Regions from separate parts of the Homo sapiens genome. Here regions 1 and 3 are each linked to region 2. Evidence: promoter capture Hi-C in human tissues and cell types (Jung and others, 2019). All regions are on one chromosome and are shown on one strand. Each heading gives the region's core, a stretch centred on a gene start or on the middle of the fragment in contact. The rest is flanking DNA. Distances are from core to core; before and after follow the strand shown.

Region 1 (2,700 bases), core at 7-2,506, 330 kb before region 2:
AGGGGAGCCAGGACAACTCTTTTCTCTAACCATTTGGATATTCTGCTCCTACCGGTATGGCCAAACATCGTTGAGTTTCAGAACTACATCTCACTGTTGCTTGATATTTAATCTTGCAGGCAATTAAAATGAAGACTGTTTCCATGCGGGCCCCCGTGAAAGGGATTCCTGTGTATCTCAAGCAACAAAGAGAGCTGTGGAGCAAGGAGATTCCCTGTGTAATCGGGAGCACTGGATGTGAATCCCAGGTCTGGCATGGGAACCTTGGGTGAGTTTCTTAACCTCTCTGGATTTTGGTTTCACATCTGTAAAATGGAGCTATCTTATGGAATTGTTGTGAGAATTAAAATAAGATATGGAATGTCAGCCCCTAGTAACTGATCTGGCTCAAAGTGCAAGGATGGTTAATTTTCTTCCTTCCCCCTAGCCCCCACAATTTGGTGTGCCTGAGTAAGTACATTCTCTCCTGTGTGCTGTTTTCTGTGTTTGTAAAAGAAGCTAAAAATACCCACCTCATAGGAGTGTGGCAACAATGAATACTATATGTAATATGTGTAGAGAACGTTGTGATCCTTTTTGGAAGCAAAGGGCCATAGAAACATGATATAGAAAAGCCTTCTTATAGCAGAACTGGGCCAGGGAGTGGAGTCTAGTGAGAACTAGTGGAACACTTGAAAAGTGCTGTTTTATTACTTTAACACTGTACTAGTGGCAAAGTAGGAGGGAAATGTTATAATAAAGAACATGGAGACAGTTAATGAAACACTCACAAGCCTCCACGGGTCTGTGTGGAATAATGACATACAGTAACGGGAAAGTGCTGTGTCACCAAAGACATAGAAATTGAAGGGCACGTTTAAGGAAACTCTCTTAAAGCTTCAGTTTCAATTTTTTTTTTCTGAATTCATAGCAGATTCTTATTTTTAGTAAAACCCTACCATTTATAAAAGAGGAAATTATGGCAAGCATTTTATTCATTACTCACTAGTGTTTTTTTTTTTATCATTGAGAATACTCAGTGAGTGATGCTGAGTGGAATGTTACGTATCACCATCATCATCAGCATCCATCCCACCACCATCATCACAACCACCACCACCACCATCATCATCATCATCATCATCAACAGCTTTTTCCAAGCAAGTCTGGAATAAGAAGAGAAGTCGGAGGATTTAGGCTTTGTACTTCCTGGCAGCCCCAGCCCCTGAGGCTCATGCGATCCTGCTCACCTTCTCTCCCTGACCCCGAACCCTAAGGGGCTCCCGCACTCCAGATCGTAGCTGGCTCTTCTCTATTCTTTTCCTTATTCCAGCCATTAGAGTCTTTTGGGACTGGCTTCTCAACCTTTGTCACATTGGGCTTGATATTTTTAGTTTCTTTCAGTGGTAAATATTAGATTATTCAGAAAAATTGTTGTCCCAGATTTCCACACATGATGGTATAGATACAGAATATACACTTATAAAATAAGCAGAAATGATATCTCATGAACATTTGCTAGAATTGAAATAGAAGAGGTGCAGGCAGCATCCCCATAGCTTAAAAATGATCTGCTAAGATGTGGGCATGACTTTTCCCCACAAAACTTGCCACTCATTTGATATTATAGTGCGGGGGAATAGTCTTCCTGACATTTTAGTGGTTGTTATTGCTGTATTTTTTTTTTAGGGCATATTTTTTTAAGGGGAGAAAATGAAGAATATGTAAGGAAAAAAATCAGTACTTAGCTGGGTTACCTTTTATTCTTAGGACATTTACTTGTTAGCATTACAGTCTTAAAATAGTCTTCTACCAAATACATTACCAACAGGCATTTCCAAAATGCTGAGAGTACTCTATCTAGTCTCAAATTCTCAAGTTCAAAAAAATGGAATGCCAGTTCCTCCATGGGCTGACACAGCCTCATTATTATGGCCATATTTATTTACTTATTTATTGTAGTAAAATATACATAATATAAAATTCATCATTTAAACCATTTTAAGCATACAGTTCAGTGCCTTTAAGTACATTCACATTGTTATATAATCATCACTACTATCCATCTTCAAAACTTTTTTTATCTTCTGCAATGAAAACTATGTACCCATTTAATAATAATTCCTAATTACCCCTACCCTCTGCCCGTAGCCACCACCATTCTACTTTGTGTCTCTATGAATTTAACTACTGTCAGTACCTTATGTAAGTGGATTAGCGCCAAATTTGTCTTTTTGCGATTGGCTTAGTCACTTAGCATCATGTCTTCCAGGTTCAGTCATATTGCGGCATATGTCAGGATTTTCTTCCCTTTAGGGTAACACTTATTGAGCTCTTACTGCCTACCAGGCCTTGTGCTATGCGCTTCAACAGACCTCACAATCACCCTATGAGGTAGGGAGTCTCACTAACTCCATTTCACAGATGAAGAAACTGAAGACAGGAATGTTTAGAAAGCTGCCTGATATGGTTTAGCTCTGTGTCCCCACCCAAAACTCATGTTGAATTGTAATTCCCAGTGTTGGGGGAGGGACCTGGTGGAAGGTGATTGGATCGTGGGGGTGGATTTCCCCCTGGCTGTTCTCGTGATAGTGAGTGAGTTCTCACAAGATCTGATGGTTTAAAAGCGTGTAGCACCTCCCCCTGCACGCTCTCTCCTGATCTGCAATGGTCAGCTGTGCTTGCTTCCCCTTCGCCTTCCACTATGACTGTAAGTTTCCT
Region 2 (2,700 bases), core at 158-2,657:
CAAGTAATTCGCCCACCTTGGCCGCCTAAAGTGCTGGGATTAAAGGCATGAGCTACTGCACCCGGCCAGGAGTTAGACACTTATGATTTCATACTTCCAACCAATGCTTACCTCCATTATATTATTGAGCAGATTATGGTTAAAATGTTTGCATGTTTGTCTTCCCTCAAAGACTGTGAACTACTTGTGGGGAGGAATGATCTTTTGTATCTGTATTCACGGCACCTAGCATGGTGTCTCACTCATAGTAGATTCTTGGTAAATGTTTGTTAAATGGATGTGAAGTTAAGTGGATGTGTATACAGCATACAGAGGTGGTGGCACTGGTGGGAAGCAAGATGCCAGTTCCTAGGGCTGAGCACAAAACCCACCCTGGACCATCCGTAAGACGTGCAGGAACATCTGTTCCATCGCTAGCGCCCTCTACCTCCCCATTTTGTTTTGGAGGCAGGGAAGGTTATTGGTCTGAAAAGATCTCCATCTCAGAAGAAAAGAACGCTGATACATGTTATGGATATCTCACATTCACTCATTGATTTAACGAATGTTCACTGAACATTTACTCTGTACCACGGCTCATCTGATTCTCACAACCTCTCTCAGCATTATCCGCATTTTTAGATGAGAAGGCTGAGGCTCAGATTTATTTGCATAAGGTCCCACGGATAGCAAGTGACATAGCTGAAAATTCACTGGTTCTGACTCTGGAGGGTGTCGGGCAAGAGTCAGGGGTTGCGGGTCTCCAGAGGGCTGGTCCAAGTGGGGCTCACCTGAACTTGGTGTGGCTGGGAGCCGCGTTCTGTTCAACTTTCTGCTTGGCCGCAGCGTCTTGGAGCTGTCGAGCGCCTGTGCAGATGGTCCCGGCCGGCGTTCTGGCCACGACCCTGCTGGGAAGAAAAGCTCGGTGAGGGCCACGGCCTAACGGTCACTGGGGCCCGGGTGGCTCAAGGGACACGAGTAGGAGCATAGTCCTGGAGGTGGCGGTGGGCTCGAGGGGGCAGTCATTTGTTACCCGGCTGTCTGGGGCCAAGTCCAGGACCGCAGGAACCGCGACCCCGCGTTTCTCACAGCCTGCATGACTTGAATTGACCCCAGTCAGTTTCCGTCTGCAGCGACAGTCACAGCTGCGCCGGCGCCGGTACCATGAGTGCCTGTCGGGGAGGGGACAGAAGGGAAAGTCATCTACTCTTCATTAGGTCCACTGAATATTTTTATTTCCATTTAAATGCTCAATAAGACTTTCACTGTAGTTCACCAGGGGATTCTTTCCCTTTTTTAATGTTCTGAGATGGTGGGTCACCCCCTCCATATGCGAATGGTTCGTTCTAGCAGTTCCGGGACTGAGCTTTCCCCTAGTTTGCCGCTCCCGCGGCTGAGGGATCCCTGGGAGCCGCGGTGCATTGTGGGAGAACGAAAGATGGCGGCGCCCGTAAGGCGGACGCTGTTAGGGGTGGCGGGGGGTTGGCGGCGGTTCGAGAGGCTCTGGGCCGGCAGTCTAAGCTCTCGCAGCCTGGCTCTTGCAGCCGCACCCTCAAGCAACGGATCCCCATGGCGCTTGTTGGGCGCGTTGTGCCTGCAGCGGCCACCTGTAGTCTCCAAGCCGTTGACCCCATTGCAGGAAGAGATGGCGTCTCTACTGCAGCAGGTGGGACTGAGATGCAGGGTTCAGAGTGACGTTTATTCTGCGTGACTTTGAGCGAGTAATTTCACCTCTCTGAACTTAAGTATACGGTACTTATCCGCAGAATGGTACCTACCTTACTGACTTGGTTTGGTACATAGATGTTCAACAAAAAGTGGTTTCTTTTCATTGGCCGTGTTTATTGTCACCTTAGACAACTCTTTGGAGATACTCTACTTCTTGTTCATGCAACACAATAGGGATCCTGTGGTGAACAAGAATCGGTCCGTGTCACTAGGAGCTTACAAGTCTGGAGGGAGAAAGTCTTTGTGATGTGATGAATGTTAAGAAGGAAATACAAGAGGCGGTGGGCACATCTGTCAGATGCCTATGATAAGCCTACTCTGTTTTATCTCATGGGGCTATCTGTGTGAGGGGCAAGTGAGGAAGCATGGGCAAAAACAGTGTAGTGGCTGTGAAGGTGTGAGGTCGCTACAGAAAGTGTTTGAAGGGTGATATGTTTCCTCAGAATCCGAGATGTTTTTGTCTTGGTCTGTTGAGAACTATAAACTTCTCTTCTGTGCTTTTTGCTTGATTTATTCATTTACTCGCTCGCTTGACAAATATTTGTTACTCAACCTACAGATGTTCATTGTGCCCATACTATGCATCAGAGAGTATGTTAAGTGATAGAGATGCTGTAATGAATAAGGCAGAAGTAGCTCTGGTTCTCAGAGTACTTCAGTCTAGTTGAGTGAGGGGATCAGTCAGTAACCAAATAATCATACAACTAAATGCAGACCCTGATAAGTGTTGTTAAGGAAAACACAAGGCACTATAAGAGTGTTTAACAAATACATCACATTTTGATTTTATGGTGAGTGTCAAGGAATGCCTCAGACTTTCTGAATACAGGTTTTTCTCTTTATGAGAAATGTCTCTCTGAGACAGTCATATTTAAATTGAAATCAGAAAGATGAGTAGGACTCTCCCAGAAGAAAGAATGTGAGGAAAAACATTCTAGGAAGAAGGAACAACCTCTTGAAAGTCCCTGAACAGGAAAGTCCTTGGTGAGTGAG
Region 3 (2,700 bases), core at 13-2,512, 280 kb before region 2:
AATAAAAGACCATTTCAGCTAGTGCAACTTAAGAAACAAAATATTGTATTATGTGGTCAACTTAGTCTTCCTTTTCTTTTTCTCTTTGTGACAAGGTCTTGCTCTGTCACCCAGGCTAGAGAGCAGTGGCATGATGGCTCACTGCAGCCTTAATCTCCTGGGCTCAATGATCCTCCTGCCTCAGCCTCCTGAGTAGCTTGGACCATAGGCATGGTCTCAGATTCCTGACCTCATGCAATCCTCCTGCCTTGGCCTCCTAAAGTGCTGGGATTACAAGTGTGAGCCACTGTGCCCAGCCTCAGTCTTCCTTTTCTTGTTTGTTCAGAGATAAAAAGGGAAAGCTGAGATGCATTTTCTACCTTATCAATTCTTAGGCAATTTATCATTTTGTAATTAATTAGAACAAAGATAAAATGCTATTTTAAAAATATATAGAAGATATTTCTACTCTAAAAGGATTTTGAAGGCTGCTTGCGACTAAAATTCATTGAATCTAGGTCAGGGTCACACACTCAAATGCCCACGGGGACTGTGCAAGAAAAACAACTGAGCAAGTTTGACATTAAATGACCTCTGGAACTCTTGGTATTAGAGGTGCAATAGGGAGTGCTGGAGACTGTGGAAAACTGGAAGGGATTAGCTGTGTCTAAAGGGGAAGTCACTTCTCAACTTCAACATAGCATTTTGTTTTGTTTTATTTTAGTAAGAGGCCAGAATTTTGTATTTTTATGTGAAGCCTCTTAATCCATAATTGTTGGTCTATAATTCAATAGTATGTGGGTCAAGAAAAACTAGTTTGGGGCAATGTTTGGTTCTCAGGTTGCCAGTCTGATATACCTTATCGGGTAGGAAAAGTTGAAGTAGAGTTTTGGCAGAAGGGGGCGAATGCACAGGGCATTCTGGAAGAATATCTGGAGGGCTTGTTAAGGGACAGGATGCAAAGGGAAGAAGAGCCTGAAGGCCTGGGAGGACTTAGGATTGTGGAGAGCTTGCTTTGGTGAAAGGTGTGTGTGTGTGTGTGTGTGTGTGTGTGTGTGTGTGTGTGTGTTTGTGTTGGGAGGGGATATGTAGACAGAGCAGGCAGGGAACCAGAGGAAAATGAGTTCAATTTTAACAAATTGCACTTGAGAGGTCATGACTGGGAGTATACAAGAGGAAAGAACAAGGAGGATGTAATTAACCTTGAACTCAATATGTGCCTACAGCATTACGGAGCTGCATGTGATACATGATCAGATTCGGTATCTGCATTATCAAGGAGGCATTTGTCTGTACTCGGTCTTGCTCTCTGCACTCATCAGTGGATTGTGTTCTATTCTGGATATTACTTTTAAAAAATGCTCTTTTCTCTTAAATTACAGAAGCAATATGTGTATCATTGCAGAAAATTAAGAAAATGCTGAAAATTGAAAGAAGGAAAATTGCCTGTAATCCTAGCTCCTATAATAACTATTGATGGCTTCCTATATATCCTTCTAGTCTTTTTTCCTATACATATATACTTAAATACTTCATAAAATTGGAATCATATTATAAATACTACATTACAATCTGCTTTTTCCACTAACATGTCTTGGACATTTTCCCATATCAATAAAATAAAATAATCTGCCACAACTTGATTTTTCATGGTTATTTTAGCATTTATTCCATTTGATGGAAATATCAAAATTTATACCTAATAGGCTACTGTTGGACACATGCTGCTTCTCCATCATAAACGAAGTCATCTCTAATGCTAAATCTTTGCACATATGCTTGGTTATTTTCTTAGGATAAACTCCTAGAAAAGACAATTGTTAGGGATATCAAAGGAAGAAGGCAATAGTGAAAACTTGAAACAAAAAGCAGGATTTACTGTTTGTAAAGTAAGAGAAAATTGTGCTTTGAGACAGTCTTTCTGAACAAAGTTTGGAGGAAGCACGGAATTCAAGGATTAATAGAATTTCAAGAGTGAGAATTAAGGGATTGGCTGACCTTAAATTGAGGAGGTGTGGTTATTAGAGTGCAGCTATTGCTGATTGGATGGCAGAAGCATATAGCTATCTTTGATTGGCTGACTTTCAGAATCATGTGCCATTTATGATTGGCTGATTCAGGAGCATGGATTTCAGTGAGACTGAAGACAAGGTAGCACGTCAGGTTTTAAATCCTTTGTGCTGCTTAGTTGTTACTATGGCTGGAGAACAAATAGCCTTTTCTTAGAAAAGAGGGACTTTTAATTTTCAAGTCAAAGGGCAATATTGCCAAACTGTTGGCACAATATTTGAAGCAATATGTGCACAGACTAAAAGCCTCTGGAAGAGATTGATACTGGTGGGAAGACTGGAGGCCTTGCTATAGGAGGGAAAGTGTGAGGAAGGTGATGGTGACTAGCTTGGAGTAGAGAAGACCAGGGCAGGCATGATCACTGACTACAAAGCCTATCACTACGCAAAGGCACACTGGGCTCTTTTCTTTTCTTGACAGAATCTCGCTCTGTCGCCCAGGCTAGAGTGCAATGGTGCGATCTCTGCTCACTGCAGCTTCCGCTTCCCAGGTTCAAACCATTCTCCTATCTCAGCCTCCCAAGTAGCTGGGATTACAGGCGTGCACCACCATGCATGGCTAATTTTTTGTATTTTTAGTAAAGACGGGGGTTTCACCATGTTGGTCAGGCTGGTCTTGAACTCCTGACCTCAAATGATCTGCCTGCCTTGG

The links. Contacts are between HindIII fragments. The study calls those that stand out against the background at their distance.
Region 1: a contact is called between a fragment that was not itself captured here and the fragment with the promoter of MRPL46 in region 2, in 2 of the 25 tissues and cell types used here (H1 embryonic stem cells and IMR-90 fibroblasts).
Region 3: a contact is called between a fragment that was not itself captured here and the fragment with the promoter of MRPL46 in region 2, in 2 of the 25 tissues and cell types used here (mesendoderm cells and neural progenitor cells).

The regions. Positions count from the first base shown.
Region 1 is chr15:88,796,224-88,798,923 of GRCh38, reverse strand. LOC105370960 (a long non-coding RNA gene) reads left to right here. Exons shown (of 3, transcript XR_001751648.1): 2 at 120-268; 3 at 1,020-2,462. Among named protein-coding and RNA genes, the nearest start is that of ACAN, 5.9 kb to the left of the region's middle. The HindIII fragment of the contact is 7,841 bases long and covers 1-2,700 here.
Region 2 is chr15:88,466,095-88,468,794 of GRCh38, reverse strand. MRPL46 (mitochondrial ribosomal protein L46) reads left to right here and starts at 1,407. Exons shown (of 4, transcript NM_022163.4): 1 at 1,407-1,645. The coding sequence starts at 1,418. MRPS11 (mitochondrial ribosomal protein S11) reads right to left here and starts at 1,087. Exons shown (of 6, transcript NM_022839.5): 1 at 1,013-1,087; 2 at 771-887. The coding sequence starts at 1,077. RefSeq lists enhancers at 1,237-1,406, 1,873-2,700. The HindIII fragment of the contact is 11,540 bases long and covers 1-2,700 here.
Region 3 is chr15:88,749,241-88,751,940 of GRCh38, reverse strand. No RefSeq gene overlaps it. Among named protein-coding and RNA genes, the nearest start is that of ACAN, 53 kb to the left of the region's middle. The HindIII fragment of the contact is 5,029 bases long and covers 1-2,700 here.